5 separate regions of the Homo sapiens genome follow, and all the other regions are linked to region 1. The links are contacts of gene promoters, found by promoter capture Hi-C in blood cells and fetal thymus (Javierre and others, 2016). All regions are on one chromosome and are shown on one strand. Each heading gives the region's core, a stretch centred on a gene start or on the middle of the fragment in contact. The rest is flanking DNA. Distances are from core to core; before and after follow the strand shown.

Region 1 (3,753 bases), core at 614-3,113:
GTGGGGGTAACAAGAGTCTGCGTGCCTCAGGCTGGGCTCAGGCGCCCACCCCACCTGCAGCCCAGGTTTTCCCCAGTACCACAATTGGGTGGGATTTTTGCTGCAAGGCCAAGTCCAGAGGAGCACAAACACGCTCCTCCCCTCCCCCTCCCTGACCCCACCGCCGCTTCATTCCAGAGCTCTTCCCTCTTTCCCTCTGAGGGTGGGGGCCCCGCAGTGCCTGGGAGAAGCGGGTGGGCGGCCGGGCATGCGTAGCGGAAACTGGATTCCCAAGGTAGTGAGGAGCAAAGGGAACTTTTTTTCAAAGAGAAAGGCTGTCACTCTGAATTCAGGACTCCTGACATAGTCACCAGGTGACCCCTAGGGCCGGTGTCCACAGGACCACAGGCTCCCTCTGCAAACGCAGAACCAAGTTGTGAGTGGGGCACACTGTGGGAAGCAGCTGCCTCCATCAGCCAGCCAGTGACACACCTGGGGACATCTCAGCCACCCCCTCCCTGAGAAGCTGCACAGAAGCGGCCACATGCCCATCCCTGCCTCTCCATGCACCTCCCTCCCGCAACTCTGCAGCCGCACAGGAGGCCTAGCCCACAGGCTGGGCAGTGCAGTATCCCCAGAGAACACACCACGGATGAGTCTGGAGTTGCTTGGAGCTCTCAGAAGCTCCCGGAGCCTCCTTCCTCAATTCCAACGCGGTAACCAAGATTCCTGCTGAGCTTAGGTCACAGTGTGACTGCAGGAGGACCAGCCGCGATGGGAGAGTGCCTCTTAACCATCCCAGTTATCAGGTCCCCCGGGGGAGGCTGGGGACACTTCCCCTCTGCAAATTACAATCTCCCCAGGCGGCTCCCGGGGCAACACATGGATATGCAAATGACTGGGAGCTGGAGAGTTGACTGGTCACTGGGTGACCTTGGGCAAGTCACTTTCCCTCTCAGGTCTTCCCCTCTCCATCAGCAAACTCCTAAAGCTTAACTAAACAGTCAGAAATCCCTCTGTCGGAACAGGCTGCATAGCTCTGGGCAGACCTGGAGGTTGGTGGTCCCAGAACCTGGGGGCAGCACTGCGCTTCCCCACCGTCCCATCGCGTCAGGGGCTTCCACTGTTCTCTTCCCTGGTGGAGTGATGGGGAGAAAAATGGAGGGGTCAATCCCTGCGCCACAGAGAGAGTCCCACTCGTCCCCAGCTGTGACCCACAGACGCGTGGCTGCACCTTGGAGGTCCACCTGGCCGCTGTCCCCATTGCAGGCTGCACCCATCCCGGACCCTTTCTATCCGCCGAAGGCGCAGGCAGCTCTGGTCTCAGCGGAAGGAGTCCGGCCGCAGGCAGACGGGGCCAAAGGACGTGCACCCGACAACCGTCCGCTCCCTCCCCAAACCCCCGCCCCGAGAAGGTTGATGGATGAAGGGGAGCCCTAGCCCAGCCACCTCGGGGGCAAGAGACGGAGCTCGCCACAGACCAGGAGCGAGAGGGGGACTGCGGGTCCCACCGTGAGCGCAGGGCGCGCGGGGCTGGAAACCCAGGACGCGGCCCGGGAGCTCCAGGAGGGCGCCTGCGGATCGCGCGGCCCCGGGCCGGCCGCCTGCCCATCTGGCGCACCCCAGCGCGCCGCGCACACCTGGGGGCCCGCACACCAGCACGTCCTCAGACACACCGACACCCACGGCAGCAGGCGGGGGCCAACGCCGCCGCCGCGGTTCGGGCTCCCGTGGCCCCGCCTGCCCCTGCCTGCCCCGCCCGGGCCCCGGCCCCGGCGGGCGCCCCCCGCGGCGCTGCCCCGCCCCCGCCGCCCCGCGCCGCCCCGGGCCTCGGCCCGCAGCCCGGCCGCCGGCCCACCTGGCGCAGCGCCGCCCTCGGAGCCCGCGCACACCCGCGCACCCGCGGCCGCAGGAGGGCCCAGCGACGCCGCCGCGCCAGCTCCCAGGGCCCGGCCCCCCCCGGCGCTCACGCTCTCGGGGCGGACTCCCGGCCCTCCGCGCCCTCTCGCGCGGCGATGGCCCCACTCGGATACTTCTTACTCCTCTGCAGCCTGAAGCAGGCTCTGGGCAGCTACCCGATCTGGTGGTGAGTGAGCCTCCTCGCGTTCGCCCCTGCCCCTGTGCGCCGCGCCCGCAGCAGACGGTCCCCTCGGGCAGGGACCCCGCGGTGGCCCGAGCCCGCGCCCTTCTGCTCCAGCCCCGCGTGCGGGCCGCGGGCGGTTGGTTTTCCTTGACGGCCACTTTGGACCTGTTCAGGCCGCTGGGACGCGTGGGTGGCGGAGTTTCCGGAGACATTGATTCCCGAGCGGGGGAGTAGGGGAGGTTGCGGAGGTCCTAGCTGCCCCTGGCGTCGGACAGGGCGAGCAGTGGGCTGGGGAGAGGCTGAAAGAAGGTCGGCACGCACGGTCACCGAGGGGACAGGCAGCTCGAGGCCAGGGGACAGGCGAGGGAAGAGGGCCAGCGAGAGAGAATTCGCCGGAGACTTTCCTCAAAAACCGTATCTTACACACAAACACACACACACGTTTTAAAACAAAGTCGATGAGACAAGACTGAACAGCTCGGAGCAGCGTGGTTACGTAAAGAAAGCTGGGACCCGGCGGGGAGTGGCGCAGAGCCGGCGGCGGGGCGCACTGGGGGCCGGCCCTGGGCCCCGCGCGCCTCCCCGCCGCAGTCCGGGCACGGGGGTTTCCAGGGGCCCTCTCTGCGAGCCCTCCGCATGGGTCCACCTGGCAATGAGGGGCTGCTGTAGAGAGAGTTAAGGGTGAGTTAAGCACGGGGTGTGAGGGGCTCCAGGACCCTCAATCAGAAAGCGCTGTGCTGCGCCCTCCACACCAGAAAAGGCGCGTTCCGTGAGACCCTCCCCAGCCTGGCGATGGAAGTGCAGATAAACCAAAGGAAGGGTCCCGAAAGGTCTCTCTCAGGCCTCCCACCTCCACTGCACATATCCTGTGGGAGGGGGAACGGTGGCCACACTTTCGCCAGGGCTTGTGATCCCTCAGAGCCCTCACCAAGCAAGGATCACCCCAGTTCCGAATTAAGGGCGCTCTGAGATGCCCAAGATTGAGGAACACAAGTGGGAGGAATGTGGGCGCGCAGGGCCGGGCGCAGCGCTGGTAGGACCCACAGTTGGAGAGAAGCCTCCCCACAAGCATGCACACTCCCCCCCATCCTTCTCCGACGGCAGCCTGGAATTATAATAATTACGCCGAGGGGAAGGGGGGAGACCCAGCGAGCCGAGGTACATCTAATCCGATAATAATTTTTCTCTTCGAGATGGTTCAGGAGCGGGGGCTCCCGCGGTAGGGGCGCCGGGCCAGGAGCAGCGGGGAGGGGAAGGGGCAGCCCTAGGCAGCTGAAGGGCCTGGAAGAGGCCACGAGGCCGCGGGGACGCGCTTCGGGGACCCCCGCGCGCCCCTATTTCCGCGTGCCCCATTTCCCGTGCGGCACCTGCTGCGCCCAGTGGCCCACCTGAGGGTCAGGCTCGGGGCTCGCCTTGGGGTGCGGGGATACTGACGCGCGTCCAGACGGCCGCAGGGAGCCAGGGGCAGCGCGTCCGTCCGAGAGAGCCCCGAGGGCTGCCGGCTTACGCACCAGGCTTCTAATTAGAACCCGCCGCCGCGTTCCTGAGCGCAAAAGGAAGCTCCTTCGCCCCGCGCCCTTCCCATAAATGTCGCCAGCCTCCTGGCAACCCCGCGCCCTAGGATCTTTGTCTTGTCGGCCCTGAGGGTTCCTAGCCTCGGTCCCCATCCACCTCATATGCATGTATACCTC
Region 2 (3,753 bases), core at 870-3,369, 500 kb after region 1:
TTCTTTCATCTGTCTGACAGGATCTGGCTCTGTCACCCAGGCTGGAGTGCAGTAGCACAATCATGGCTCACTGTAGCCTTAAACTCCTGGGCTCGAGTGATTTTCCCACCTCAGCCTCCTGAGTAGCTGGGACAACAGGCACACACCACCATGCCTGGCTAATTTCTTTATTTTTATTTTTTTGTAGAGATGGGGTCTTGCTATATTGCCCAGGGTGTCCTCAAACTCCTGGCCTCAAGCAATTTTCCCGCCTCAGCCTCCCAAAATGCTGGATGACAGCTGCAAGCCACCACAAGCAACTCTGTCATAATGCAGTCTTTATAACCAGCTGAGCACAATCTCTACTCTCAAAATAGGGCTCTGAAGTCTAGGAACAAGTCCTCAGCTCCTGAAATGACAGAGGAGGAAGTGAGTGAAGTGAATGAATGAAGGACACAGTCAATATTGAGAATAATCACAGTGATTGCAACTGTAAACCCTCCCTGACGCGGCCTTGCTCTGAATGCTACTCTGTTGGTCTTTCAGGATGGTATCAGCACTCCCAGCAGACAGAGTGGCTCAGGGCTCACACCAGGTCCCTCAGCCCACACCCATCAGACTTGGGGTTCAAACTCAGATCTGTCTGTTTTCAAGACAGAGCCCAACCAGCCTGCCTGAAATCAGCCAGTGAAGACTTAATTGAGGGATTGCTAGGAGACAGATGGTCTCACTGGGTAGATCATAATCAGGCAATGCCAGAGGGAGGATCCCCACTGGCCACCCCATTCCTACTGTGTCTGAGGACACATGGACGAAGCCTCAGCTCAGGGCTTCGTGTTAGGGTCCTGGATTTGGGGTGGGGGGGCAGGATGTGCCTTGTCGGGGCTCCCTGCTCACCACGCCATGGCTCAGCCTTGTCGCTGCTGGTGGGCCGCCTCTGCTCCTTTTCTCTTCACTCCCTCTCTTCTTCCAGTGATGCTTTGTTCTTTTCCCTTTGACGTTTCCAGAAGATGCAGATGCCTCCAGCTATTACGAGTCCCATGGCAACAAGGATCAGAGGCAGAGCTGCTTTCCATGCCGTGAACTGGGAGCTTCTGGAGAAGGTAGCTGGAGAAGATTCCCAGAAGCCAGGAATATTGGGGTAAGAGAGTTTCTGTGTTCTGAGGTCAAACTTGCTAAAGAGTTCAGTAGTCCAGGGACATAATATTTGCAAATTACTGTGAAATAGTTTCCAAAATAGTATGTATTTGCACAGCTGGTCTATGGACCGAATGTCTGTGTCCCCCAAAGGGGTTGAAATCCCAACCCCTACGGTGATGATGTTAGGAGGTGAGGCCTTTGGGAAGTGATGAGGTCATGAGGGTGGAGCCCCTGTAACGGATATGATGGGAATGGTGCCCTTATAAAGGGGAGAGCCCAGAGAGCTCCCTCACCCCTTCCACCATGTGAGGACACAGTGAGAAGGCGCTGTCTATGAACCAGGAAGTGCCCTTGCCAGACACCAAATCTGCCACGCCTTGATCTTGGACTTCCCAGCTTACAAAACTGTGGGCAATAGCTATCTCTTGTTTCTAAGCCACCTGGTCTGTGGTATTTTGTTATAGGCACACAAATGGAGTAAGACAGTTGGGTTTAGACATATGCATAGGAAGTAGATATTAGATATCTATTTGTAGATAGACAAAGGGAGAAGTGATAAAAAGAAATATCGCAATAAGGTAAAAATATGGTGAATCTGAGTAAAGGGTGCACAGACAACTTTTCTATTAATCTTGCAAAGTTTCTGTAAGTTTGACATCATTTAGAAAAGTAAAAGTGAAAGTTTTTGTGAAAAGCTAAATTTGGAAACAACCAAGATATTTTTTAGTAGGTGAATGGATCAATAAACAGTGGTCCATCCAGATCCTGGAACGTTATTCATTTCACAAAAGAAACAAGTTATCAAGGCAGGAAAAGACATGGAGGAAACCTAAATGCGTACCACAAAGTGAGGGAAGTCAAAGTGAAGGGGCTACAGAGGCACCGTCCCAACTACAGGACATTCCAGAACACCTGGAAACTATGGAGACAGTGAAAACATCAGTGGTGGCCAGGAGTTAGGGGAGATGAATGAATGAGCGGAGCACGGAGGATTAAGGGCAGTGACATTATTTTGTATGATACTATGACAGATATGTGGCATTATATATTTATCTAGAACCATGGGACACCATGCCAAGAGTGAGCCCTCATGAAAACTGCACTCTGGGTGCTGACGGCATTGTCAACGGAAGTTCATCAAACATGGTGGACGTTCCTTCTGGTGTAGGGTTTTTATGCTGGGGGAAGGTGTGTGAGGGGGTTAGGGGAAGATGGGAACTCTCTGGACTTTCTACTAAAATTTGTTGTGACCCTAAAACTGCTTTAAAAAATAAAGCCTATTTTAAAAAACCCTAAAAACTGTTGATATTAGGATGTACATTTCTTGTTCCCCCAAAGGCAAGGCTCTCCCCAGGGTCCCTGCACCCTTATCTCTGTTCCTCTTCAGTAATCAGCACCCAAACAGTGCACCTCCTGGGATGCCCCAGCCATGTGAGGACAGGGACCTGCCACCCATCCCTGCTTGCCACAAACCCCACAGCTGTCTCTTAATGTCCCCAGTGTCCAGGGCCACGGAATCCTGTGCTCAGTGATTGTGAGGACAGAACTGAATAGAGGACTCACCGGGCAGGTGGCTCTCAGCCACCTTCCTCCTTTCAGGGAGGAGGGGGCTGGAGATGGAGCAGGAGAGACCCTCCACAGCCCTGTCCCAGAGCGTCAAGCTGGATGCCACAGCCCAGAGCCTGGTGGTGGCTGAGGCTGATAGATTGGTCACAGCAGGCCTAGCCTGGCCCCTGAAGTCTCTCCGTTCCACCCAGGACTTGGGGAAACAGCCTGCTGATGTGCACTCCGCCCTGACTCCATCCTGCTGGTCTGTCACCTGGATTCTGGGCTCTCTGCCCAGCCCTGAAGGAAGAGACAGCAGCTTGAATCTTTGCAGCCATGGCTGCTTCTATTTAAAGGAAAAACAAAATCTTGAGGATTTCCAATGTATTTTGGCAATTTCACAAACTGCCTACCCTGTGTTACACACCATCCCTAACAGAGTTCCCCATTTCCCAGACAAAAGAAGGGAAGCAAAGTGGAAAAGGTCCAGGAAGATTGAATAGGCATCCTGTGTTGCAGAAGTAGAATTCATGGCACAAGATGGGACCCAGGCTTGTCTGTTTCGAAGCACAAGTTCTGAGTCACTCGGGAAACCTCCCGTATCTGAAGACTCTCTTCTCTCTCTTGGCCTTTCTGTCTCCTGTCATTATTTCTCTGTCTCTCTCTTCCTCCCACTCTCTGTTGCTTACTGTCTTTCTCATTTTCTTTTACTGTCTCTCTGTCTCTGTCTCTATCTCCCTCTCTCTGTCACTGACTCTGTCTCTTTGTCTCTTTCATTCTCTCTGTGTTTCTCTCAGTTTCTCATTCTCTCTGTCTCTCTCCATCTCTGTCTCTCCTGTCTTTCATTCTCTGTCTCTGCCTGTCCCTCCCTCTCCATCTCTCTCTTTCCCCATCTCTATAATTCTGTCATTCTTTCTTCATCTCTCTCTGTCTTTCTCTCATCTCTCTGTCTTTCTCTCCATCTCTCTTTCCACCTCTGTCTGTCTCTCCCTGCTTCTTTCTCATTCTATCTCTTCTTCTCTGTGTCTCTCTCATTCCCCCCATCTCTCTCTTTCCCTTCCCTTCACTTTCCAGTCCACTGGTGTAAGG
Region 3 (3,753 bases), core at 613-3,112, 430 kb after region 1:
TGCCTGTGGGTCTGTGAGTGGCTACAGGGCCCCCAAATGAAAGGGGGGTGCTCAGGTGCAATTAGTGCACCTCTCATTTGGGGATTCTTAGTTTAAGAGTGAGGGAATGCTATTCATCCCATTGAAAGAGGTGGGGAGTCAGCATTAGCTGGACCATATTAAATCTAAAACAGCCCAAATCCTTGTCATAATAATTCATTATTCTTCATTCCACACTCAACGTACATTGCTCTTGAAAGATAGGAGAATATCCTCCCCAAAGGATACCACCCCCTCCCCAAAGGATGCCACACCCTCCCCAAAGGATGCCACCCCTCCACAAAACAATGCCACACCCTCTCCAAAGGATGCCACCCCTCCCCAAAGGATGCCATACCCTCCCCCAAACGATGCCACACCCTCTCCAAAGGATGCCATACCCTCTTCAAAGGATGCCACCCCTCTTCAAATGACACCACTCCCTCCCCAGATGATGCCACACCCTCTCTGAAGGGTGCCACCACCTCTCCAAAGGATACCACACCCTCTCCAAAGGATGCCACCCCCTCTCCAAAGGATGCCACACCCTCCCCAAAGGATGCCACACCCTCCCCAAAGGATGCCACTCCTCTCCAAAGGATGCCACACCCTCCCCAAAGGATGCCACCCCTCCCCAAAGGGTGCCGTGCCCTCCCCAAAGGTTGCCACCTCTCTCCAAAGGATGCCACACACTTTCCAAAGGATGTCATACCCTCTCCAAAGGATGCCAGCCCTTCCCAAATGATGCCACCCCTCCCCCAAAGATGCCACACCCTCTTCAAAGGGTGCCACCCCTCCCCAAACAATGCCACCCCCTCCCCAAAGGATGCCAACTCTCCCCAAACAATGCCACCTCTCCTCAAAAATGCCACACCTTCTCCAAAGGATGCCACCCTTCCTCAAACGATGCTATCCCCTCCCCAAAGGATGCCAGCCCTCCTCAAACGATGCTACCCCCCTCCAAAGGATGCCACCCCTCCCCAAATGATGCCACCCAAAGGATGCCCCCTCCTCTCCAAAGGGTGCCATTCCCTCCCCAAATGATGCCACCGACTCTCCAAAGGATGGCACCTCCTCTGTAGAGTGTGCTATCCCCTCCCGAAAGGATGCCACCCCCTCCAAAGGATGCCACCCCTTCCAAAATGATGCCACACCCTCTCCAAAGGATGCCACCCCCTCCTTAAACAATGCCACCCCTCCCCAAAGGATACCACCCTCTCTCCAAAGGAAGCCACCCATCTCTAAAAGGTGCCACCCCCTCCTCAAGGGATGCCACCTCTTCCCCAAAGGATGCCACTTTGGCACAAGGATTATTTGGAGCTGAAGGCCAATAATAATCCATTGTTGAGAAACAACGGATGTAAAAAAGCTTTCTGCTTGCCCCTATTTTCCTAAAAGCAGGACAAAATGGACAAAGTTGTCTTTGCCTCTCCACCAGGAAGGAATCAATTTAATCATGTGAGATGATTTTAGATGCTTATCAGCCAGGAGACAGCACCAGTGAAATCTACATGCCAGGCCTTAACTCGCCGGCCCTCTCCACCACTGCTTCTCATAACTCCCCTCCTCCACATCTTTCACTGTTCGCCTTAGCTGAAGGCACTACACAGGCCGGAGTTCTCTAGCTGAACTAAGGAAAAGTCCTGCAGCAACAGTATTTGTTAGAATGTTGGGGTGCTCAGGCCTCCAAAACAGAACCTATCTCTCCGACCTTCTCCCACCCTCCTTTTACCTACTCGTTTTGCTCCCCAGGCAGGCCACAGAAATGAAAACTGTAGTCTTTCCCCACCTTTCTGTCTCGGACCTGGCCATAAGGACATTTTCTGACTTCCCTTTTCTGATTGTGGGTCATAAGACTCCCAGTTCAGAGAGGGTCCTGCCCCATACCCAGGAGGAAGGATGCTGCCCAGAGAGGCCAAGAAGAGTCTGAACACATGGGCTCTGCTGGGGTTCCCCGCTCAGTCTGTTGGGGTTACATCCACACTTTCTGTCCGGTCACATTTCTACATGGCTGTCTTCTATCATGTCCATCCAATGAAGTCTCCATAAAAGGCCCAAGGGGACAGGTTTTGGGGGCTTCTGGAGGGCTGAACTCGTGGGGGCTTGCAGGAAGGGTGAGGGAGAATTCATTTGCAGGCTGGGAGGGTGGCGCAGCCCAACTCCGCTGGGTCAGAAGGCCCTGCGCTTGGACCTTTGCAGAACTCTCCCTCTGCATTCCTTCATCTGGCTATTTATTTGTAGCCTTAAACTATTCTTTAAATAAACAGGTAAATGTAAGTAAGTGTTTCTCTAGTTTTATGAGCTGCTCTAACAAATTAATCAAGCTTAAAGAGGGAGTCGAGGGAACTCCAAGTTACAGCTGGTCAGAAGTTCTGGAGGCTTGGACTTGCCCATGGTGTCTGAAGTAGAGGCAGCCTCGGGGACTGAGCCCTCAACCTATAGGATCTGATGCAATCTCCAGGTAGATACTGTCAGAATTTGTTTATTTATTTAGTTTTTTTATTGTTATGATTATTTGAGATGGGGTCTTGCTCTGTTGCCGAGGCTGGAATGCAGTGGTGAGACCCTAGCTCACTGCAGCCTGGAACTCCTGGGCTCAAGCAATCCTACTTCAGTCTCCTGAGCAGCTGGGACTACAGGCATGCACCATCGTGCTCAGCTACTTATTTCATTCTTGTAGAGACAGAGTCTTGCTATGTTGCCCAGACTGGTCTCCAGTTCCTGGGCTCAAGCAATTCCCTCCCACCTCTGCCTCCCAACGCTGGGATTACCAAGGCATGAGCCACTGTGCCTGGCTGAAGTCGGAATTAAATTGGGTTCAAGGACACCTAACTGGTGCCCACTAAAACATTGGTTGCTTGCTTGCTTGCTGATAGGGAGAAATCCTCACATGTTTGGTCACAGATGTCTTCTGTGTTCATTGTTGTGTTGTGAGATCAGAGGAAAAACAGTTGTTTTTTTTCTACATCAGAGGACACAAATATTCAGACCATAGCAGCTGTGGCAGGAATTTGCTGTTCTATTCCAGCCAACACCTGAAGACTGGTCCAGGCTCTTCCTTTCCTAGAGCATTTACTGAAACCAGCTCACAACTGGGAATGCTTCCTTTGGCGTGTTGAGATGTCCATGTGTCTCCTACAATCTAGCAGTGGCTCCTCGAGGAACCCAGAGCCATTCCTTTGAAACCAGGAGGGAGAAGGCCTTAGTCTCTGCCAGAAGGTAGAATCCTGACTTTGGGCCTGGCTGACTAGCAGACACAGATGGTCTCATCTGATTGGCACGGAGCCCCCGCTCACCCCATCTCCTTCCCTTTAAGACACCCCGCCACCCCTACACAAATTACAATGGAGGCGACTCTGTACTGACTGCAGCTGGCACTGAATGGAAATCTGTTTTCACTGCTTTAATGTCCAGCTTTATCTTTGCGTTAACTGAAAAAATCACAGGATCTATAAATTGGAAAAGCAGATTTCACTTCTTGTAGAGGGTTACAGCCTGCAAAGTGGCCATCCCTCGGGCAGGGAAGCACAGCCTTGGCCAAACCCAGTGCCTGGGCCAAGCCCAGGCACTTTGGGGGAGGGAGGAGTTGGGGCAGGAGCTCTGTGCTTGTTTGGCTTTGCCAAACACACATATTCCACAGCCTACGGGAGGACTATGGAGATCCATGAGGGTAGCCTTCACACATGTTCACGGAACACACATGCACATGACATGTGATGCATGCTTACCTTGAGG
Region 4 (3,753 bases), core at 532-3,031, 420 kb after region 1:
GGTTCATCACCTGCTTTCAGGAAAAGGGGTCAGAGGGCCCTTCTTACACCTGCTGTTCTTCAAGTGCCTTCAGCTCAAAATAATTCTTATATCAAATCTGCATATTTTGGGGAGGTCTATTCTGCTATCTTGTTGGGAGCTGAAAGCCTGAGGGTCGTGACCAACTCAGCATTCCACTGGAGGCTATATGACTAAACAGCAAACTGTTTATCATGAATGCAGGATGTGGGCAAACTCGCATCTGTGCCTGCCACCAGAAGGTACGCTGAGGGCCTCATTCCCTGGCTCTGTGCTCCTTGAGGTTATCTACTGGGACATCTGGAGCCTACTGTTCAAAGAATGCAGTCATGCAGGCCTGCACTAAGTCAAGCAGCTGACCACAACCACCCCCTTATCCCTGTCTCCTTTACTTAATAAGAAGGGCTCTAGAAGCTCAGGGCCCTTGTTCACTAGAAGCAAGGAGCCCCCTGACCCCTTTTTCCAAATATACTCTTTTGTCTTTGTCTTTATTCCCACTTTTGTCCTCCTTTGTTCAGTCCACCAAGGCCCATAGCACTATCTCTTAATGCCTAACTCTCCTTTCTATTATTTCTGGAATTTTAACTTTTTGATATTTAGAACCACTCTTTCCACTTTTATAAACACTGCATGCTCAGGCTACCTCCATAGTGTACATGCGCTCGAAGAGTTGAGTACACAGTGAACAGATATCCACATTTCAGTTACTATCTCACATCGTTAGAACCCACAGGATACAGAAGCAAAGGCTCTGGTCGTAATTGTAAGGGTCTGGCTCTGTTGCCCAGAATGGAGTGCAGTGGTGTGATCACGGCTTACTGCTCACTGTAACCTGGAACTCTTGGGCTCAAGCGATCTTCCCACCTCAGCCTTCTAAGTAGTTAAGACCACAGGCACACGCCATCATGCCCAGATAATTTTTGTATTTTTTGTAGAGACAGAGTCTTGCCATGTTGTCCAGGCTGGTCTTGAACTCCTTGGCCTCAAGAAATCCTCCCATCTCAGCCTCCCAAAAAGCTGGGATTATAGGCATGAGCCACTATGCCTGGCTGGAAAGACTTCCTCAAGTGCCCACTTACACGACCCAGAAAGACTTCAGTTACTTTTTTCCTGTGTCTAAACTTCCTTCCTTAGCTCCTCACCTTAGGTCCTCAGCAATCAGTTCTGAGATACAAATTGCCCTGTATTGCCTTGCTGTATCTTTATAGGGCACAATTAGTGCACTATCCACTCCATTAATCAGTGAAAACAAGGAACATATAAGGCCAAGCTCTTGTTTTTTGTTGTTGTTGTTGTTGTTTTTGTTATTGTTGTTGTTTTTGACAGGGTCTGTTGCCCAGATTGGCCTCAAAAACTCCTGGGCTCAAGCCATCCTCTCGCCTCCCCAGTAGCTAGGATTACAGGCATGTGCCACACTGCCCAACTTAGACTCTGTTCTTCATACAAAGACCAGAATGACAGGGGGCTGCTTAAGTGGCTTGGTCTCCTACAGAAGGCAAAGCTTGATCATGATCCTGTCAAGAATGCATTATCTGCATCCAGTTCCGCAAATGTAGCTAACTGCCCAAATTCCTGCTCCCTCCAGGCTATCCAGCAAGATCATCAGCAAGGTTACATAGGTTTAGCTCTCCACCACTGGGCAAGACTTTGTTAGGACAAGGGCTTTGTAAAGCACAGAAGACTTGAACTTCACCTGCTCGGGAGGCTAAGGCAGGAAGATGGCTTGAGCCCAGGAGTTCAAGGCTGGCCACTATGCTCACGTCTGTGAATAGCCACTGTACTCTAGCCTGGGCAGCATGGCAAGACCCTGTCTCTGAAAAAACAAAACAAAAAGGGAAAACTTAAATTTATCCCAAAGGAGTCTAGTATTGAAAGTCAGAGCTGACTTTCAAAACCAGAACATAGCTGTCCCTGAATATTCTAGGCTTTCTGGATAGCCCTCCAAGGATCTGGCACTCATAAGTTTAAATACATCCTGAGATTTAAAGGGTATGATGTTCAGTTGTGTGTGTACTAATAAATTGATGAAGCTTTTGAATTTTGAGTCAACAGGCTATAAATTGGGTTCAAAGAGACTTATAAAATCCACTGTTGCCTATTGATAGCACTTTATGCACATCCCTTGCTATGTATAAGAGCACCTTTTACTATCATTGCTTCTACACACAATACAGGCCCCCTTCACTCAAGCATAAGCACCTTGAAAGCAGAGTGGGCAGCAGCCACAGGAAATGGATTTTATTCCCTCCATGATCCCAGCATGGGGTAGTGCTTGGCCTCATTCAATTTAATAAAGCCTTTCACAAATAAATGATTCCAACCTGTACCAGAGGGAGACAATCCCTACATCCTTATCCTCACAGCCATCCTCAGGTTTTCCTGACATAAGTCTACTATTGGATCTGTGGCCTGCTGCCCTAGCTGTAGGATTTCTCAGCAAGTTGGTCTCTGTGTCTCTCATCCCCAGAGCACTGCCAGACTACTTTGTGGCGCTGGGAAGCCTGTTTCAAAGTGCTGGGCACATGGGCCACGCCTGTCTGCGACTGCTCAGTAAACTGACTTCCAGGGCAGAGTGCCCTCTTTGAACTTTGGGCTGGGGTTTCCCAGTATTGATTTCACTTAGGAATTAACAATGCACATGCCTAGCTGGGCTTCTCACACACAACTAGCTAGTCATCTACCCTAACAGAAGACAGGGTGAATTTACAACATACATGACTAGCCAGCCTTTTAACTGAATGGGAGATTGGGTATGTTAACACATACAATGAGATGGACTTCTAACCCGAGATGGGCCAACACCACAGCTACATATGTGTGCACATGGGTGCACGTGCACACACACACACCCCTAGCCAGCCTTCTAACCTAATGGGAGATAGCCCAAGTTAAAAAGATACACAACTAGCCAGCCTTCTAAATTAACAGGAGGTAGGCTGAGTTAAAACACACAAGTAGCTGGACTTTTTTTTGTTTTTTTTTTTGAGATTGAGTCTCGTTCTGTTGCCCACGCTGCAGTGCAGTGGCATGATCTTGGCTCACTGCAACCTCCGCCCCCTGGGTTCAAGCAGTTCTCCTGCCTCAGCCTCCCAAGTAGCTGGGATTACAGGTATGCGCCACCAAACCCGGCTAATTTTAGAGATGGGGTTTCACCATGTTGGCCAGGCTGGTCTGGAACTCCTGACCTCAGGTGATACACCCGCCTCGGCCTCCCAAAGTGCTGGGATTACAGGCGTAAGCTGCTATGCTGGTGAAGTAGCTGGACTTCTAACTTAAAATAGGCCAAGATAATACATACTACTTGCTGGCCTTAACAGGAGATGGGCTGTCAAGGCAGAAGACTAGCTGGACTGGTAACCTCACTGGAAACAAGCTGCGTGTACACACACACACACACACGCAGGACTTCTAACCTAATTTGAAAGAGGCTGAGCTGAGAACACACAAGACCAGCCAGCCTTCCAACCTAACTGTAGATAGGCTGAGTTGACACAACTAGCTGGGGTTGCTTACCTAACTGGAGATAGACCAATTAGGCTACCCTCAACACCCCGTCCCCAAAACAGACCAACCATGATTCTTATCTAAACGGATAGGCCAAGTTAGCCCCACACACTACTAGCTGGATTTGTGACTGGAGACAGGCTGAGAGGTAACGCGTGTGAGTAGCTGGCCTCCTAACTGGACAGGGTGAACACAGGATTCACCAGCCTCCCACCCTAATCAGAAGTAGGT
Region 5 (3,753 bases), core at 616-3,115, 370 kb after region 1:
GCTGTCCCCTTGAGCAGGGGCCGCTTCAGCGTGGTGCGGCAATGCTGGGAGAAGGCCAGCGGGCGGGCGCTGGCCGCCAAGATCATCCCCTACCACCCCAAGGACAAGACAGCAGTGCTGCGCGAATACGAGGCCCTCAAGGGCCTGCGCCACCCGCACCTGGCCCAGCTGCACGCAGCCTACCTCAGCCCCCGGCACCTGGTGCTCATCTTGGAGCTGTGCTCTGGGCCCGAGCTGCTCCCCTGCCTGGCCGAGAGGTGAGGGTGGCCTGGGGTGGTGTGGTTGAGCTGATGGACGGACTGATGGACTGATGGACCCAGGCCTCTGGGGTGGGGCTGGAGGACCAGGCCCCTCTGCACAGCCAGTGCCCCTCCCAGTCCACGGGGAGTAGTCTCAGCCCTGGCCCTGGTGGCCCCCACCCCGGAGCCTGGGCTGAGCAGCTTCTGCCCCCCAGGGCCTCCTACTCAGAATCCGAGGTGAAGGACTACCTGTGGCAGATGTTGAGTGCCACCCAGTACCTGCACAACCAGCACATCCTGCACCTGGACCTGAGGTCCGAGAACATGATCATCACCGAATACAACCTGCTCAAGGTCGTGGACCTGGGCAATGCACAGAGCCTCAGCCAGGAGAAGGTGCTGCCCTCAGACAAGTTCAAGGACTACCTAGAGACCATGGGTGCGTGTGTGGACAGTTGGGGGGACCTCACCTGGGGCGGGGGGCAGGAAGAAGCCCCCTCTCCTCCAGTGCTGTCCTCTCTCCCAGCTCCACTGCCACCCACTCAGCCACACACCTGGCCCACACACCTGTGCCCCACCTATCCCACCTGGGACCACTCACTCATGCCCACCACCTGTGTCCCTCCACCTGAGCCCAACCACATGTGCCCCTCCCAGCTCCAGAGCTCCTGGAGGGCCAGGGGGCTGTTCCACAGACAGACATCTGGGCCATCGGTGTGACAGCCTTCATCATGTGAGTCCTCCAACCTGTCTGGGGGTTGCTAGGTGGGCGGGGCAGTCTCCCCCCTCCACCCGAGGGTGACCTCAGGGCCCCTGCACCCCCGTCCACCTGAGGGTGACCTCACGGCCCCTGCACCCTCGTCCACCCGAGGATGACCTCACGGCCCCTGCACCGGCCACCCGAGGGTGACCTCAGTGCTCCTGCATCCCCTCCCCCTCCGCCCTGGTCTACCCAAGGAGGGTGACCTCAGGGCCCGTGCACCCGCCACCTGCGCAGGCTGAGCGCCGAGTACCCGGTGAGCAGCGAGGGTGCACGCGACCTGCAGAGAGGACTGCGCAAGGGGCTGGTCCGGCTGAGCCGCTGCTACGCGGGGCTGTCCGGGGGCGCCGTGGCCTTCCTGCGCAGCACTCTGTGCGCCCAGCCCTGGTAAGGCGCGCCCCTCTCCTCCTCCTTCTCCCCGCCCCCTCCTCCCGTCCCGCCCCCTCCTCCTTCCGTCCCGCCCCGCCCCGCCCCCCCACTCCCTTTCCCCTCGGTACTCTCCCTTCCCCCTCTCCCCTTTTCCACTTGCCTTCCCCACACCCCTCCCGCCGCTGGGCCACGTGCTGAGCCTATGTCCGTCCCAGGGGCCGGCCCTGCGCGTCCAGCTGCCTGCAGTGCCCGTGGCTAACAGAGGAGGGCCCGGCCTGTTCGCGGCCCGCGCCCGTGACCTTCCCTACCGCGCGGCTGCGCGTCTTCGTGCGCAATCGCGAGAAGAGACGCGCGCTGCTGTACAAGAGGCACAACCTGGCCCAGGTGCGCTGAGGGTCGCCCCGGCCACACCCTTGGTCTCCCCGCTGGGGGTCGCTGCAGACGCGCCAATAAAAACGCACAGCCGGGCGAGAAGTCTTCCGTCTCGTTGCATTATTTTCTTTTGGGGAGGAGAGGGAGTGAGGGCTCTGTCCCCGCCTTTCTGGCTGGGGCGCCGATCAGGCTGCCCCGCTGTGTTTGGGCCTGTGAGCCCCTTAGAAGGCGTCCTTAGGGGTCGCTCCCTCACTCCGATGCTCCGCGCGTTCAGCCCCTCGGGGCGTCTCCGTCCTCACACCCATGCGCGTTTATTCCACCCGCCGTGCGCCTTCCTCTCTTCCATCACGCTGACCTGCAGCCCCGCAGCCCGCTTTCTCCGCCGTCGGGCCAGCCGCTTGTTTCCACAACTTCTCTGCCCCGGGAAGAGTTCTTGGGCAAAGCGTGCAAGCGAGGGCGAGAAGCCGCGGGCCACGATCCGCTGGAGGAGAGGAGGCTTCAGAGTCGCTGGCGCGTGGCCTCGGTGAAAAGCAACCCAGTGTTTGAGATTCCATGGGCAATGACTACGCTGGCCGAGCCCCGCCCTGCCCCTTGCCAGGAGTGCAGGAAGCCTGGGCCGTGGGGTGCGCGCGTTGTCTCTCAAACGCTGCTGAATGTCCTTTCTCCTATTCTTTGACGTGGGAAAGGGAACTTGAGATAGGTGCAGCCCAGGAGACCTGGGAGCTGGCAGGGAGGGCCTTCTCCTCTTGCACATAAAACCTTTTGCAGAGGTCCCTCAGACACAAGGCCAGGCCCCTCATACCTATGTCTAAGCATAGATGGAGAGGAGGCTAACCGACCCCTCTTGGCTAAAATGGGTCATGCTGATTCCTGGCCAGCTTAGATTTATGGGGACATCCAGTGATGGAGTTGTCCTGGCTCTCTCTGACAGCATGCAACCCAGAATGAGGCCCGGTTGTTTTAAACACTCCTTTTAATCACCAAAACAGTCAGCTCTTCATAGCATCCTCTTCTCGAGCAGCCCCAGGGTTCCCGGGGTGGGGATATGATCTCCACTGTCCCCAGCAACAAGGCTGACGTTGGACGACAGCTTCGTTCCTGGGGGGCTGGGGCTGCAGGGTGTAGACAGCAGTCTCTACCCTCCTGATTCTCAGCTCATCTCAGGGGCCCAATGACGACCACATGCTGATGGGTCCATTCTGCAATGTCCAAATGCTGAACACCTCCCCTGAAATCTTACTGAGCCCAGGACACTTTGAATCAAAATCCAAGCATCGGCCAGGCACAGTGGCTCACACCTGTAATCCCAGCACTTTGGGAGGCTGAGGTAGGAGGATCACTGGAGCCCAGGAGTTCAAGACAAGCCTGGGCAATAATAGGGAGACTCTTGTCTCTACAAAAAATAAAAAATTAGCTTGGCATGGTGGTGCATGCCACCAGCATGGTACCAGCTACTCGGGAGGTGAGCCCAGAGGTCAAGGCTGCAGTGAGCTGTGATTGTGCCACTGCACTCTAGCCTGGACCACAGAGCAAGACCCTGTCTCTAAAAAGAAAACAAACATCTTCTAACTTGAACTGACTGCCCTCACTCCCTCTGCCCCCACACTGCCTCTGACTTTACCTTCCTCCTCCTTTACGACCTCCTGAGAGTCAGCATGTCACCACTCAATGCATCACAAAGGGTACAGGCACCGTGCACTCACTTTCCCAGGACACTGATGTCAGGGCGGGGTGGGGGGGAAGGTAGTATCTTTTCCTCACCCATTGCAAGGCGCATGGATGAACCTTGCACGTATGGCCCCAATCACAAAGACAGGTTAATAAGATAAAGCATGACACACATCTATTTAACAAAAGGTTTTATGTGACAAGTGAGCCTTCAGAAACAAAAACCCAAAGAAACAGGCAAATCTGTCTATTTTTTATGCTTGGGTTTGATGAAGAATGAACAGTCATGTAAAAATATGCTTAGACAAAAAGCAGGTGCAACTTAATGGTAATAAACTGGGGGCA

The links. Contacts are between HindIII fragments. The CHiCAGO score rates a contact against its expected background, and 5 or more counts as called.
Region 2: a contact is called between a fragment that was not itself captured here and the fragment with the promoter of WNT3A in region 1, in 1 of 17 cell types (M0 macrophages). The highest score is 7.3, in M0 macrophages.
Region 3: a fragment that was not itself captured here is called in contact with the fragment with the promoter of WNT3A in region 1 in 4 of 17 cell types (M0 macrophages, M1 macrophages, endothelial precursors and 1 more); the score reaches 6.8 in M0 macrophages.
Region 4: a contact is called between a fragment that was not itself captured here and the fragment with the promoter of WNT3A in region 1, in 1 of 17 cell types (monocytes). The highest score is 6.6, in monocytes.
Region 5: a contact is called between a fragment that was not itself captured here and the fragment with the promoter of WNT3A in region 1, in 1 of 17 cell types (monocytes). The highest score is 5.2, in monocytes.

Annotation. Positions count from the first base shown.
Region 1 is chr1:228,005,135-228,008,887 of GRCh38, forward strand. It overlaps WNT3A (Wnt family member 3A), which reads left to right and starts at 1,864. Exons shown (of 4, transcript NM_033131.4): 1 at 1,864-2,065. The coding sequence starts at 1,995. The HindIII fragment of the contact is 11,751 bases long and covers 969-3,753 here.
Region 2 is chr1:228,507,715-228,511,467 of GRCh38, forward strand. It overlaps LOC105373124 (a long non-coding RNA gene), which reads left to right and starts at 333. Exons shown (of 3, transcript XR_949233.3): 1 at 333-408; 2 at 987-1,120; 3 at 2,177-2,418. It also overlaps the pseudogene BTNL10P. RefSeq lists an enhancer at 3,424-3,753. The HindIII fragment of the contact is 4,514 bases long and covers 1-3,753 here.
Region 3 is chr1:228,438,011-228,441,763 of GRCh38, forward strand. LOC124904538 (a long non-coding RNA gene) reads right to left here. Exons shown (of 2, transcript XR_007066919.1): 1 at 3,747-3,753. Among named protein-coding and RNA genes, the nearest start is that of H3-4, 15 kb to the left of the region's middle. RefSeq lists a silencer at 2,379-2,663. The HindIII fragment of the contact is 955 bases long and covers 1,386-2,340 here.
Region 4 is chr1:228,421,020-228,424,772 of GRCh38, forward strand. No RefSeq gene overlaps it. Among named protein-coding and RNA genes, the nearest start is that of H3-4, 2.5 kb to the right of the region's middle. The HindIII fragment of the contact is 529 bases long and covers 1,518-2,046 here.
Region 5 is chr1:228,377,035-228,380,787 of GRCh38, forward strand. OBSCN (obscurin, cytoskeletal calmodulin and titin-interacting RhoGEF) reads left to right here. Exons shown (of 116, transcript NM_001386125.1): 112 at 18-257; 113 at 455-678; 114 at 897-972; 115 at 1,237-1,386; 116 at 1,584-1,842. The coding sequence ends at 1,761. Among named protein-coding and RNA genes, the nearest start is that of TRIM11-AS1, 15 kb to the right of the region's middle. RefSeq lists an enhancer at 1,564-1,633. The HindIII fragment of the contact is 9,621 bases long and covers 1-3,753 here.